Linked DNA regions of Homo sapiens: region 1 is linked to region 2. Evidence: promoter capture Hi-C in 16 types of primary human blood cells and fetal thymus (Javierre and others, 2016). All regions are on one chromosome and are shown on one strand. Each heading gives the region's core, a stretch centred on a gene start or on the middle of the fragment in contact. The rest is flanking DNA. Distances are from core to core; before and after follow the strand shown. Region 1 holds the start of LOC107986077 (a long non-coding RNA gene). Region 2 holds the start of SEC22C (SEC22 homolog C, vesicle trafficking protein).

Region 1 (7,869 bases), core at 1,643-4,142, 570 kb after region 2:
TCACTATGTTGCCCAGGCTGGTCTCGAACTCCTGGGCTCAAGTGATCCTCCCACCTCAGCATTCTAGGAAGGGCTATTCCCAGCTTCACCTGTTACATAGCAAGAACCTGTCTCTATTTAAGAAAAAAAAAGTGTTTAAGGAAGTCCAAACAGGCTGCCTACAGGCACACTGCCTATGAGTTAGCCCTGCTCTGCAAGGAACAGCACTGTAAAATAAAAATAATAAATTTTGAAAACAAAAAAATTAAGTCCAAACAAGGATTTCAAGAGCTCCCCTCCCACCCCATTCCACCCTGTTTCACCTCAGGTGCACTATTAACAATAATAATTAAATAAATTTCTCACTATAATGAATCATACTACACAGCCTTTCATAAAATGCCTATCATAGCCTTTAAGCAGCTCAACATCATTGGTATTCTGTGTAACTCAGGAGACATCCAGTTTTACACATATGCAATTATTTACTGTCTCTTCACTAAAATTTGCACTTTTCAACACTGCAAGTGGCCTCCACTTAGATACATCTAAGAAGACAAGTCAGAATAGGGAACATTTGTTTGAAAAGAAGGGGGGAAAAGGAGGTGAGAAGCCAGAAGACCCATTCATTCAACAGTGTATCTCTGTCTAACAACAGTGTATCTCTGTCCAAGAATAAAATAAAACCTAAGAACCCACATAAGCCCTTGGGTTCTATCTCCATCTTTTAAAAAGAACATCCTCTTGTCTTTCCCTACAAAAATCACAGTGCATGCCAAATATAGATGAGTTAAATAAATCTGAGTCCATTTTCTTTTGTTTTGTTTTGTTTTTGAGACAGAGTCTCACTCTGTCGCCCAGGCAGGAGTGCAATGGCACAATCTTGGCTCACTGCAACCTCCACCTCCTGGGTTCAAGCAATTCTCCTACCTCAGCCTCCCACGTCGCTGGGATTACACACGCATGCTGCCACGCCCGGCTACTTTTTTTGTGTTTTAGTAGAGACGGGGTTTCACCATGTTGCCCAGGCTGGTCTCGAACTCCTGAGCTCAGGCAATCCACCTGCCTTGGCCTCCCAAAGTGCTAGGATTACAGGTGTGAGCCACCGCAGCCAGTGGTCAGAGTCCATTTTCAAAACCAAGGGTCACAGAATCATATATGTGAAGAGGCTGGTCATGGTACTTTAAAGTTTATCAAACTTCCCGACCATACAGTATTAAGCTCTGGCATGCACAAAAGGCTTTACTGAATATCTGCAACTCTCAGTGAGTTTAAATGACTGTTCGCCCTCCAATGCCTTTCTTACTTGAGCCCCAAAGGGTAAAAAAAGAACTGTCCCTTGCAGAAAAACTGGCCACCTATCTGCTTACTCTCCTTGGCTCTCTTATGAGCTATATGGTGCTACAGAACAATCGCATCTATAAAAACTCCGACAGCTGACGGAGAGGAGAATGCCCAAGGTCTGTTCTCTACCTTGGGAGCACGAAGTCAAGATGGAGAGCCCAGATGGTTAATTCAAGAATCACCAAACAATTACAGAGGCCTACTATATACAAGGTCAGAGGCAGGGACTCAGAATGCAACGACAGGGACTGGGAGTGGTGGCTTGCGCCTATAATCCCAGCACTTTGGGAGGTCATGGCCAGCAGATCACTCGAGGTCAAGAGTTTGAGACCAGCCTGGCCAAAGTGGTGAAACCCCGTCTCTACTAAAAATACAAAAATTAGCTGGGCGTGGTGGCAGGTGCCTGCAATCCCAGCTACTCGGGAGGCTGAGGCCAAAGAATCACTTGAACCTGTGAGGTGGAGGCCGCAGTGAGCCAAGATCGCACCACTGCACTCTAGCCTCGATGACAGAGCGACACTCTGACTCAAAAAGAAAAAAAAAAACAAAAAACCAGAATGCAATGACAGGAACAAAGTCCACTTAAGATGGCAAACCTTAAGGTGTTGTTAGTTTGGAAAGTGAAAGTTTAAGAACTCCATTCAATGTGAATAGTGCTCTATTATTTTTGAAAGCCCTTTTATTTTTATGTTTTTTGTTTTTGTTTTTGTTTTTGAGATGGGGTCTTGCTCTGTCGCCCTGGCTGAAGTGCAGTGGCGGGATCTTGGCTCAATGAAACCTCTGCCTCCCGGATTCAAGCTATTCTCCTGACTCACCCTCCTTAGTAGCTGGGATTACAGGTGCCCATCATCATGCCCAGCTAATTTTTGTATTTTTAGTAGAGACGGGGTTTCACCATGTTGGCCAGGCTGGTCTCGAACTCCTGACCTTAAGTGATCCACCTGCCTCAGCCTCCCAAAATGCTGGGAATACACGCACAAGTCACCATGCCCGGCCCAAAGCTCTTTTATATTACCTGATTTGACCCTCATAATAAACCTATAAAACAATAATTACTATTATATGCTTTATTATCCCTGTTGGGGCTCAAAAAGCTTACCAAATTACAAACCCAATCATGTTGGAAGGAGACCTGAAAACGCTCCCATGTCATTCAGTCAAACTTTTACAGACACCTCCATTTAAAACATTGTCTCCCAGAGAGGGGAGAGCAGGACAGAGAGGTTAAGTAAGGTCACACAGCCAATAGAGAGGAGTTGGAATTTCAGTCCAGGTTTCCCACTCCAAGACCACAGAGAAGGAGAAGCAACACAGCCAGAGTGGAGACACCCTCAAGCGAGCGCTGGGGATGGGAAACTGGTCCCTGGGGCATCAAACAGGAAACGGCTGGTGCTGGGGCCAAGCTGAAACCCAACTGTTGCCAAACTCGCAGCCCTGAGACAAGGGCTTTAAACCGATTCAGCATCCCCCAGAGCCGGGCTCAGCTTTCCAGCTGGCTTAGGCTACACTGGGCTGGGAACCTCTGTGACAAAGCTGAGGTCCAAGATCAAAGAGCAACCGAGTATGACCATTCCAAACCGAGAGACAGAGGGGAAGGCGCCATCTGTCACTCCAGGTCCAACTCTCCAAACCTACCAGTCAAGCTCCCAGCCTGTTGTCCCTTCACTCAATCTGGGGAGACCCTCCCCAGTGCAGACTGGCTCCAGGGCTAATCAGAGCTTAGTCTGAGCACCTTCCTCTTCGCTGCTCTTGTAGTTGGAAATTGGAAAGGACCCTGGAACTAGACCGTTTCCCTATGGTAACCTCCACTCTCCTTCCAGATAAACAAAAGACCCTCCAGAAAAGGTTACCAGTCCCGAATACACACTCACAGACAGTATTGACAACGTTTACACTTTTGAAGCAAATAAAGTTCCAGTGAAGCATATCAGAAAAAAAAAAAAATCAGCGGTCCAACGACGAATACTCTGAAGGCTCTCAAAGCGGACGCTAATTTCAGTGTCTGAACAAGTGCAGCCACGGGTTCTAAAACAGGCAAGCTTAAAGCGGAAGGGGCACCCAGCACCAGCCTCAAGAGCAGGCCGACTTTTAACATCTTTCCTGAAACACAACTTTACAAAAGAAGAAACGATACAGTTCATTACATTTGTTTTTACCTGCAAGAGCTTGACCTTGGAGACTAGAAAAGAACTTTAAAAATCAGGTCAAGAAAGTGACAAAGTAAACTTGTTAACTCTCAAGGATGCAAAGGAGGGCTCTAAAGGCTCTCTGCTCTCTGACACGCTCAGATGATGTCATTTTCATCAAGTTTTGCGGGTGAGTGGGAATCGGGGTGCTGCCCGCGCTCAGCTCCAGGCTCTTTGAAGGTCGCCTCACTGTCACCTCGGAGTGCCGGAGCGCGGAATCCAGGCCACGCGGCGTGGCCGACACGATGCCCTAGGGGCACTTTTCCGGGCTCCGAGGGCCTCCTGCAGGTGCGGCCGGTGCATTAGGAGGGCTGTCCCCGCAGGGTCCCGGCGCCCGGCCTCTCACGCCGCCACTATCTCACGCGGACACTCCCAGAACACCCGTGTCCTTCCCCAGCCCCTGGGCCCGAGGCGCAGGCGGCGCGGGTGAGCGGACCCCTGGCTTACCCGCAAGAGGTGCACGGAGCGCAACCCGGCAGCAGGCGCGGTGCCGGGGGGCCTCGGTGGGGGCTTCCTCCGCGTCGTTCTCGGCCCGGCCCCGGCCGCCCGGCGGCTTCGGTTCCCTCCGCTGCAGCCGGCCGGGCGGCACGGGGGCACTCGCGGGGGCTCCGCTCTGGCGCCGCCGCCTCCTGCTGCCCGCCTGCCGCTCTGGCGCTCCTGGGCTCGGAGTCCGGGGTTCCGAGACGCGGGGGTCGTCGGGGCGTTCGAGACTCTCGGGGACGCTAAGGCTGCGCTCCGGCTCTCCCGCGCGCGGCCCCACTCTGGGGGACGCCTCGCTTGAGGCGCGCGGGCGTCAAGGGCTCGGGGCGCGCGGGGGCGGCGGCCGGGTGGGCCCCGGGGCGGCGGGCGGGGGCGCTGCTGCGGACGCGGGCACTGTTGCGGGCGCCGCCGCGCGGCCTCTCGCCATGGCTCCCCCGCGAGCGGGCGGCTTGCACCTCCCCTCCGCGCTGCCGTCACCGCCCGACGCGCGCCGAGCCCTCCCCCTTCCCAGCCCCGCCCGCCGCCCCGCGCCGCCACCTGCGGGCCGCCCTCCAGGATGCCCGCCGGCCACGTCCTAGTCGCCTGGAGCCGCGCCCCGCCTTCCTCGCCCGCGGCTGCCCCTGCACTTTTACCCACGCCGTGGGGCACAGAGAAGTATCCGGTAAAGACCTGGATCCGGAAAAGCTGATCACATCCCTCCCCGAGCGCTTATTTACTTCTAGCACTTCTCGGGGTCCTTCCAGAGTCAGTCTAAGAGAAGGATGGGACCCCCGCGGCCCGGGGCGCTGATTGTCGTGAACACAGTGGAAGTCCAGGCGTTCTGTTCCTGCAGGGCGGGCTGTCTCCTAGCAAAGCCGCCCTTAGGCTTAAATGGAGGGAGGATGGAGCCGGGGACGGGGGGAAGGCTGGAGGGGATGGAACTGGCTGTTGGACTAAGATGCCACCAAAGGGTGACAGGCAGGGGGCTGGCGGACAGCAGAGAGGGGATCAGGAACCGATCCAGGAAGTAAGAGCTCACAGGCCACTCTATTATGCAAATCACTTGTGGACGGTTTAACAGGGAACAACCCACATGATCTCATTTCCAGTTGAGGCTACTGAGTCTACTTCTTTTCAACCCAGGGGTCATAGAGGACATTGGGAGGACTTGAAGAAGACTCAGACCAGAACCAAAGGTGTAAGGAAACTAAACCCTGCAAAACCTGATTTCTCATACTGGCATAGACTTGACTTGAAGAGATCATCAAGTGTATAGTGAAGATTGGCTCAGGCAAGAATCATCCATGAATGCTTACTCTAGGGGGCTGTTACTGGCTGGCAGATATTTGTCTGGGTTGATGTGTCTCCCCATAGATGGTTTAGACCTGTTAGTAGCAAAAGCGGAAATAGTAACTATACAAAGAGGCAGGCAGACAGCATCTTAACCAGGTGATCAAAATTTACATCACCAATGAGAGCAGATGGATATCATGTCCACATCAGCTATGCAGTATTCCTGGGGACAATGCATAACCTGAATCATGATAGTGAAACATCGGACAAACCCAAAATGAGGAACATCTATTAAAAAGAGGAAGGGTCTGTATTATTCAAAAATGTCAAGGTCATTAAAATCAAAAGAAAGCTTGGGAAATGTTCCAGATTAAAGGGTGCAAAAGAGTCAGGGCAGCTAAATGCCATGCCTGATCCTAGACTGCATCCTGTGCTAGAGGAGGGGAAATACATCACGGACATTCCAGCTGACAAAATCAGAATCCATGTAAGAGATTAAAGTATTGGATCAATGTTAAATGTACTGATGTTGATAACTTCCACTGTAATTATGTACAAGAATATCTAATTCTTGGGAAATACACACTAAAGTATCTTGAAAGGGTAAAGGTCATAATGTATGCAGCTTACCTTCAAATGATTCAGGGGAAAAAAAATCTTGATAGGAAAAAATGATAAAGCCAAGTGGGCAATAAAGGTAAGGTGCATATTATCAGTGAATCAGCATATAGAGTGTACTTGAACATTTCTGTAAGTTTGAACTTATTTCCAAATAAAAAGATTTGGAAAAATCCATCAAGTTGGGGAATGAAGTAAGGTGGAAAGAAAGCAGGTATGATATAAAAGGGCAACACAAGGGATCCTTGTGAATTTGGAACTGTTAAACATCTTGAGTATGGTAGTACAGGTGATAAAATTATCTAGAACTTAATATACACACAAATGAGTACAAGTAAAACTGGGAAAATCTGAATAAGATAGGTAAATTGTATCAATGTCAATATCCTAGTTATGATATCATATTAAGGTTTTGCAAATGTTGTCATTGGGGGAAACTAGGCCAAATATATATATGTGTGTGTGTGTGTGTATTTTTTTTTTCCCAAGACGGAGTTTTGCTCTTGTTGCCCAGCCTGGAGTGCAATGGCACAATCTCAGTTCACTGCAACCTCCACCTCCCAGGTTCAGGGAATTCTCCTGCCTCAGCCTCCTGAGTAGCTGGGATTACAGGCGTGCACCACCATGCCTGGCTAATTTTTGCATTTTTAGTAGGGATGGGGTTTCACCATGTTGGTCAGGCTGGTCTCGAGCTCCTGACCTCAGGTGATCCACCTGCCCCAGCCTCCCAAAGTGCTGGGATTACAGGCATGAGCCACCGCACCTGGCCCAAATATATTATTTCTTAGAAATGAATGTGAATCTACCATTATCTCAATGCAATTTTTAATTACAAAAAAAATCATTTTTAATTACAAAAAAACTGTATGTAAATGGGCATGCCCATCAGGGAGCATGCCAGAGCAGATATGCTGGAGCTCTCATAGTGGATCTAGAATAGACATGGTGCTGTTACCAACAGTGAAGGCTTTCAAGAAAAAAAAAAAATTAGACTATTTGAAGTATAACTGACCGATCAGATTCCTTCCAGTTCTGTAATTTAACAATCCTAGAGCTGGGGGTTCTTTGAGATCATCTAGTCCAACCTACTCATTTTCTGGAAACTGTGGGCAGAAAAGTAGTGTGTGTCCACAGGAGCATCAAATTAGCGGTAGACCCGTTAACTACTGCTTGTCTGCCAAATATGTTCTACTTTCTTTACACCTTTACCAGCTGTCTGTCACTCCCTATATCTATGAGATTCAGTTAAGGCTGGTAGAAAATTTTGAAGTCATTCATTCTTTGGAGTCCCTGATTTGTTCTGTAGTGCCAGATGACAGGCATGTGGATTCTGCCCCTGAGGAGTAGGGACCAGTTTTCCTCTCCTACTCTCAGCTTGGAGGAAGCAGATGGCAGGCGGGGCCCCAGTGACAGCCCCAGTTCTGGGCCTGACTGAGCTGATGAACTACTTGGAGCAGCTGCTGACCTGCTGCTGCTGGAAGCCAGTGGAACAGGAACCTGGGAGGGAAGCAGAATGGATACAAGAAAGGAAAACAGTAATTGCCCTGGTAAGTCCTCCCTTCATCCAGCATGAGGCAGAAGTAGCTGCAACAGAGGCAACTGGCTTCCCTTGAGCCACAGATAGCCACTGTATTCTTTCCTTTTGTTGAATCAAATCGAAATTAATCTATGTTTACTTGCATTTGCCAGGCCCTCGTTAGTAACTGTGGGAAAATACAAAATAGAATATCTGATCCCTACCCATTAGGAACCCAGAATGCATCCAGGGACCCAAGGTGGAAATGTTGAAAGTGACCCAACAAAAGCAATTAAAAGGCTAGCTATATTAGCTGGGGTTCCCCCCAAAAGCAACATTGGAGAAGGACTCATGGGCAGATACTTTCTTCTGGAAAATGATCCCGTAGGATATGGGTAGAAAAAGAAATTGGGACCAGAAAGAATGAAACAGGAAAGAAAGAAAGCCTATTGAAGGATATAAAATTTCTGTAAA
Region 2 (7,220 bases), core at 4,166-6,665:
AGGCAGGTGTTATAGGGGACCAACCTGTTCCAGCATACAGGGAAAGACCTCCAGAAGAAAAGGTTTATAAAGGCAGTATAAAGGCAAAGTGGAGGTTAAGCAGGACACAGGTGTCCAGATTCTGTACTCTCCTAGGAGTAATGGGAGCCATGGATGGTTTTAGGCAGAAGAATGATGAAGCCTGAGATGCATTTAGAGTTTTATTGGCTGTAACATGGTGAAAGTTAGGGAAGACGCCCAGATGAGAAACAAAAAGAACAGTGACAAGGCTGCTACAAGCATGCAGGCCAGAGATAGTGGGAGCAATGAGAAAAGAAGTGTGTGCATTTGAAAGACATTAGAAGTAGATTTGGCAGGCCTTAGTGATCAAGTGGGGAGGGAAAGAAAAGGGAAATTAGGGATGCCTTCTGGGGTTCTGGGTTAAGCAACTGAGAAACTGGTGATGCCCCTTATGTAGGCAGGGAACAGTGGGGGAGATGCTGGAATGGAAATGAAGGTGATATATTCAGTTGTGGAAATGTACAGTGTGAGGTGATGTCAAACGATGTTGAGGCTTGTGGCTATTTGGGGCTGAAACTCAGGGACAAAGGCTAGGTTGGAGATACAGCTTTGAGAAACATCACTTGTAGAAACTGACTGGAACTATGTAGTGGATAAGACTGCCTAAGGAGAATGTGATAGTTTCTCTTATGGCAGAGGAAAAGAAGCTGCAATGGAGACTGAGGGGAGAAAGAGACTAGAGATATAGGAAGAGGAAAACCAGGAGAGTGGGGGTTATGGCTTTTTTTTTTTTTTTAAACAGTGACTGAAAAGGACATACAGGACAGCAATGACAAATGCTGTTGAAAGGTCAAGGAAGGGGTGGGTGCAGTGGCTCACACCTGTAATGCCAGCACTTTGGGAGGCCGAGGTAGGCAGATCACTTGAGGTCAGGAGTTTGAGACCAGCCTGGCTAACATGTTGAAACCCTGTCTCTACTAAAAATACAAAAATTAGCCAGGCATGGTGGCACAGGCCTGTAGTCCCAGCTACTTGGGAGGCTGAGGCTGGAGGATCACTTGAATCCGGCAGGCAGAGGTTGCAGTAAGCCTCAGTGCCATTGCACTCCAGCCTGGGTGACAGAGCGAGACTCTGTCTCAACAACAACAACAAAAGAACAAGGAAGAATAAAGACTAGGTCTTTGAGGAGGGCATTTTCAGTGATATGGTGAAACAGGTATCAGAACTGCAGGGGACTGAGAAATAATGAAAGGTGAAGGTGAAGCAATGGAGTGTTCACATATAGACCACTTTTTCCATGAGGTTTGGTTGTAAAGGGGAGAGGGGAAAGAAGGTGGTAGCTGGAAGGAGAGGAGTTGTCTGGAGCTAAGGGACATCACTTTGATGGTTGCTCTTTCTTCAGTAACGGAGGTTCCTGGGAGAGCAAGCGGGGGAGGGGGGGTTGAAGAGTGGGAGATCTGGGGAGCATGCAGGATATTTGGAAGTTGATTTTGGGGGAGAGCTGGAGAGAGAGCTGCCTTGGCAAATAGGAGCGCTGAAAGGTGTTGAGGACCTAGTTGAAGTTGACAATGTATGTAGCACTGATCTGTGTGGTTGTGAGATTTTGTCCAGCAGCACTTAGAGCCAAGAAGCAGATTCAGAGAAGACAGAAGGTTGGATTCTTCCAGGATTGTAGTGCTGCCAGATGGGTGTTACTATCCTTCTAGTTATGCCAGAAAGATAACTGTGCAAGGAATATAAGTATATTGGGAAGAATGTGATGGAGGTGATAAACCCTGAACTCTCAGCTGATGGGGAAGGAAATGAAGACTCGATGGAGCTTATAAATAAAACAAAGTAGAGGGACAAATGAACTGGAAGTTTCTGCAGGCTAGAGAAACCATGAAAGGAATTCAGAGAATAGCAGAAGGACAGATGAAAGATCAGGTGTCTGCATTTATAACTTCAGAGGTGGAGCTCTTCTGTGGTCCAGGGTGTTACCCTAGGAGTGGAGGACTGAAGAGGACTGGAAGAGAAAGACTCTGGAGTTGACTGTGAACCTGGAGCCAAAGTGAACAATGATTGGAGATGAGAGCTAGGACTTTAGGTACTACATCTCACCCCTGTTGTCCAATCTACCATGGTGCCTGAACCACACCAGTTGCACCAGTCAGAGAGTGTAAGGTCCTGTTCTAAAGCACTCGCACCACAAGTTTTGAGAGCCCAATTCCCCATATTTGTTTGTTTGTTTTGTTTTGTTTTGTTTGTTTTTTGAGATGGAGTTTCGCTCTTGTAGGTCAGGCTGGAGTGCAATGGTGCGATCTCGGCTTACTGCAGCCTCCTCCTCCCAGGTTCAAGTGATTCTCCTGCCTCAGCCTCCCAAGTAGCTGGGATCACAGATGTCCACCATCACGCCCGGCTAATTTTTGTAATTTTTCAATAGAGACGGGGTTTTGCCATGTTGGACAGGCTGGTCCCTGACCTCGTGATCCACCCACCTTGGCCTCCCAAAGTGCTGGGATTATAGGTGTGAGCCACCACACCTGGCCCCAATTCCCCATATTTGAAGAGCACTTATGCTACAGGGTTTTCAATTGCCTTTACCAACCCTGAATCTCCTGGTTTTTCTCCTTCTTTGTGCCTGTTATGACCTACCCTCATTATCAGAGACTCATTGTGGGAGGGGACTACACAAGGGTATAAATCCCAGGAGGTGGTGAACCCTGGAGGCTATCTTAGACTGTATCACAATTCTCTTCAGTTTTCATTTTGTAATTTTTCTCTGGCTATGTAAGCCCCACTTCGATTTCCGCCCATATGATGCTGACTTTCAAAAGTCTATGTCCCGGCTAGGCGTGGTGGCTCACGCCTGTAATCCCAGCACTTAGGGAGGCCAAGGCGGGCAGATCACTTGAGGCCAGGATTTCGAGACCAAACTGGCCAATATGGTGAAACCCCCATCTCTACTAAAAATACAAAAATTAGCTGGGCGTGTTGGCAGATGCTTGTAATCCCAGCTACTTGGGAGGCTGAGGCAGAAGAATCACTTGAGCCTGGGAGGCGCAGGTTGCAGTGGGCCGAGATTGTGCCACTAAACTCCAACCTAGGCCACAGAGTGAGACTCAGCCTCAAAAAAAGTCTGTGTTCAGCCCAGACCTCTACATTGACCTGCAACCTGTATATGCACCTGCTGTGTTGACATCTGTATTAGTCAAGGTTCTCCAGAGAGAGAGAACCAATGTGATATCTATATATCTACAATATAGATCTATATCTATAGATATATGGGAGGGGATTTATTAGGGGAACTGGCTCACATAGTTATGGAGGCTGAGAAGTCCCACAATAGACCATCTACAAGCTGGAGAACCAGGGAGGCTGGTAGACTGCTTCAGTTCAAGACTACCCTGTCTTAGACTTGGCCTCAGAACCAGGGAAGCTGAATGGTGTATCTCCCAGTCCAAGGCCCAAGCCGGGAGAACCTGGGGAACCACTGGTACAAGTCTTGGAGTCCAAAGGCTCAATACTTGCTAAATGAATAAATGGACGGACTCTACTACCTAATCTCCTAGAGTTAGGAGATTAGGGGAACGGGGAATTCTGATGCCAAGGGCAGAAGAGGGGTGTCCCAACTCCAGAGTAGAGAATTTGCCTTTCCTCTGCCTTTTTGTTCTATTATGTGGTGCCTGCGCATATTAGATGAGGACAGATCTTCCTTACTCAGTCCATTGACTTAAATGCCAATATCTTCTGGGAACACCCTCATAGACATACCCAGAAGTAATGTTCCCCCAGCTACCTGAGTATCCCTTAACCTAGTCAGGTTGACATCTAAAACTAATCATCGCAAAATCCTAACCAAGTCTCAAAGGTGCCTCAAATTCAACTTGTCTAAGATGGAGCTCAAGATCAATCTTATCTCCTCTTCCAGTGTTCTCCATATCTGTGAATCCCTGCACCATCCATCCATTTATCCAAGGCTGAACAGTGGCATCATCCTTGAAGCTGCTTCATCGCCCCTTCACATCCAACTCATCACCAAGTCCTATTGATTTTGCTCCTACATTTCTCTGCAGCCTTCTTAGATCTCTTTTTCTTCACTCTCACCCTAGTCCACACTCCAGCTCCATTCTCTCTTGCCCAGATGACTGCACTGGCTCCCAGGCCAGTCCCACCATAGCTCTGTTGAGACTTCTCCATTTTGATCTGCACTTTAGCAGCCAAAGTGAGTTTTATAAAATGCAATTTTGACCAGTGTTCTATGGTCCTAAACTTTCCACTATGGTCCATAAAATCCTACATGGTCCTGCCCCTTCTATTCGCTCTAGTGGATCTCACTCCACTCCTTTATTCTCTAAACTCTGAGTTTCTTTTCTTTTTGTGGTAAAATGTACATAACCATTTTTAAGTGTGCAGATCTGTGGCATTTGGTACATTCACATTGTTGTGTGATCATCACTACTATCCATTTCCAGAACTGTTTCATCTTCTCCAGCTGAAATTCTGTACCTATTAAGCACTAACTTTCCATTTCCCCCTTTCTGGGTTTCTTTTCATCCCTCAAAGGAGCTCTGCTGCCTTCCACAGAGTTCTTATATACATGCTAATCTCTCCATCTGAAACACACTTCCTCTCCCCTTTGCCTAGTTAGCCTCCTGTGATTCCCAACACCAGCCTAGAAGCTTCTGTAAATTCTCCCAAAACCCCTGCTCCTCCCTGAAGAGCAGTTTGTATTTATACAGGTGTTTGATTGTTTGAAGGGTGCTCTCACCCTGCCTCCTCTCTTAACATAGTTTTTCGTGTCAGGAATTCCTCGCTTTGTCCACAACCCCTGGCACATAGCAGGTGCTCAATACTTGCTAAATGAATAAATGGACGGACTCTGCTACCTACCTAATCTCCTTCCAGCCAGTCATCCATCTGTGGGTGCCTCGGTCCCCAGCTTGGGGTGTGTCCCCCTGGGTCGGACTTTGGCGCCCCATCCAGGCTGGCAGTAGGTTGTGCTCTTTGGTTTGCCTATCTCGGGCCTCCCGCCCAGCCGCGCGGACCGCAGAACATACGCCCCGGGCGTTATCACTCTGTCACGCGGAGCCTCCCCGCCTCCAGACGTCAGTCCGGTTGCTACCCCGGCAGGAATCGAGCTTAGATCACGAAGGCTCCTTCTCACCTCCGGACGTGAGAATTACAGGCTTGGATCTCAAACCGCCGCGGTGAGAGCCGGGAGGTGGGAAGAAAGTTGGGAGGCGCGCGCCCCCGTCACACTCCCTCTCCGTTTGGGTCGCAGCCCTTTAAGAACCACTACGTTCGCGCCTTCGCCGGGACGGGGGCTGTGGAGGCGCGCCGGGATTGGTCGGTTTGGGTGCGGGTGTCGCTTAGCAGCAGCGAATGCGGGGTAGGGGGGAGGTGGGGTGGCTCAAGACTCGCGCACGCGCACCACGGCCTACCTGCGCCTGGGCTGCCGGTGACCTGGGCCGAGCCCTCCCGGTCGGCTAAGATTGCTGAGGAGGCGGCGGGTAGCTGGCAGGCGCCGACTTCCGAAGGCCGCCGTCCGGGCGAGGTGAGGGCTGGCGGGCGGAGGCGGGTGCCGCGGCCCGTTAGCCAAGAGCAGGCGGGTTAGGGTGTGGCGCAGGGCGGGCCCAGAGGTGGAGGCGGCCCAGGGCCCACCCGGCCCTCAGTCCCGGCCTTGACCATGGGGCTCCCCACGGGGCTTCACTGGGCTTCTTGGAGTCCTCTGTCCCCTTTCTCCCGTCAGCCTGTTCCCGGACCCCGGGGCCACCCAAGGCACGCGCCTGCAGGAACCCTGGGCTGACAGATGGGCGCCAAGGGCTTCTCCCAGTTGGAAGAGATGGGGAGTGAGAAAGGGGACGATTGTTTCTTTAACCATTCACGAAGCTCACGTCAGAGCATTGTTTAATCTGAATAGCAAACTTCCCTTAGCATGCCCGTGTTATTAGACTTTAAATATTGGATACACTGAACCAACTTTTCAGAGCACTAGGTGTAGGACGTTCCATTACAGGTTTTGTGTTCATTACAGATTTACACATGTACCTCCAGAGCCAGAAGGATAAAGCACTCGGGGAAAAATTAGGTTTGTAGAAATAAAAGCCACGGAAGACTATTGCCAGTGTGAAAAGTAATTGGTGAAATTTGTGACATGGTCAGAAAAAAATACAGCTCAGAACCAACATATAGGGTAATATTTAATTACATTTTGCAGAGAAGAGTTGATCCCACTAAAGATAATTTTAGTAAAATGAAAAATGGAAGCAACTGGAAATGGTTTAACGTTGCCAGATAGAATTAAATAAACAAATAGTGTTTCCTCTGGAAAGTACATTTTGGACAATGTTAATAGCTCTGATTTAAGTGTTTGCATTTGCAACAGAAGCCATCTTGGAGTCAGTGTTTTTTATTCTTAGAATAACTTAGAAATCAACTAAATTCAAAAAGTAACATGATCATAGAGAGGACAACCTGACTTCAAGGTAATACAGTGGATAAAGAGCAGTTGTAACAAGTGTAATCTCAGGCTCCTTCCTCTACCAACAGGTCTCTGATTAGCTTATTAGTGCTCTAAGGAGAAGAAATTATTTTAGAGAAAGGGAGTAGCTGTAATTCCCAAAGTTGGATTTGTAGAAGAAGGATGTGGTGGAAAGATCCTAGGCTTTAGAATATTTGAAGTAAGGAAGTCTGGGTTGAATCTAGCTTTACCTCTTGAGCCTTACAGCTGCAGTTTTCCCACCTATCCGGTATAGATTATGTCTACCTTATAGTTACAAGCATTTAATAACATTATCAGTGTAAAAGGTCCTATCAAGTTTAGTTCCCTACCCCTCTTAGTTCCTAACAAATGACGAAACTGACCTCTACCCTCCTCTTCACTCCATCCCCAAGCAACTTGGAGCCTTAATAGAATCTACAGATTTGGTAACCAGTTCTCAAGTCCTGTGGCTGAAGGTGAATTCAGTAAGGGTGGCACAACTCAGTTTTGTCTTCTGTATTGTGTATTTGAGTCTTCTGTATTCTGTATATACTTTATGGTGAACACTTTGTGTTTGAATATTTGTGTGCCAAATGAAGCCTGTTTTGTCTAAATTCCTATTTTGCAAGGTGCAGTCATCTCTCTCTTTCTCTCTGTTTTTCTCTTTCTTTCTGTCTCTCTCAGCCTCTCTCTCTCTCAGTGCATGTGGTAGGGGCTTGAGGAGGGGTTAAGGGTAAAAGGTGGAAGAAAAAACAGG

What was found. The method cuts DNA at HindIII sites, captures the fragments that hold promoters and counts their contacts. A CHiCAGO score of 5 or more calls a contact.
Region 1: a contact is called between a fragment that was not itself captured here and the fragment with the promoter of SEC22C in region 2, in 1 of 17 cell types (fetal thymus). The highest score is 5.3, in fetal thymus.

What each region holds. Positions count from the first base shown.
Region 1 is chr3:42,010,205-42,018,073 of GRCh38, reverse strand. It overlaps LOC107986077 (a long non-coding RNA gene), which reads left to right and starts at 4,505. Exons shown (of 2, transcript XR_001740668.2): 1 at 4,505-4,650; 2 at 5,112-6,056. It also overlaps a transcript of TRAK1 not described here. RefSeq lists enhancers at 2,738-3,239, 3,633-3,772, 4,753-4,822 and silencers at 3,963-4,032, 4,093-4,252, 4,293-4,362, 4,453-4,572. The HindIII fragment of the contact is 945 bases long and covers 2,420-3,364 here.
Region 2 is chr3:42,580,162-42,587,381 of GRCh38, reverse strand. SEC22C (SEC22 homolog C, vesicle trafficking protein) reads left to right here and starts at 5,415. Exons shown (of 7, transcript NM_032970.4): 1 at 5,415-5,536. It also overlaps a transcript of SS18L2 not described here. RefSeq lists enhancers at 5,000-5,129, 5,122-5,948 and a silencer at 5,330-5,659. The HindIII fragment of the contact is 16,658 bases long and covers 4,664-7,220 here.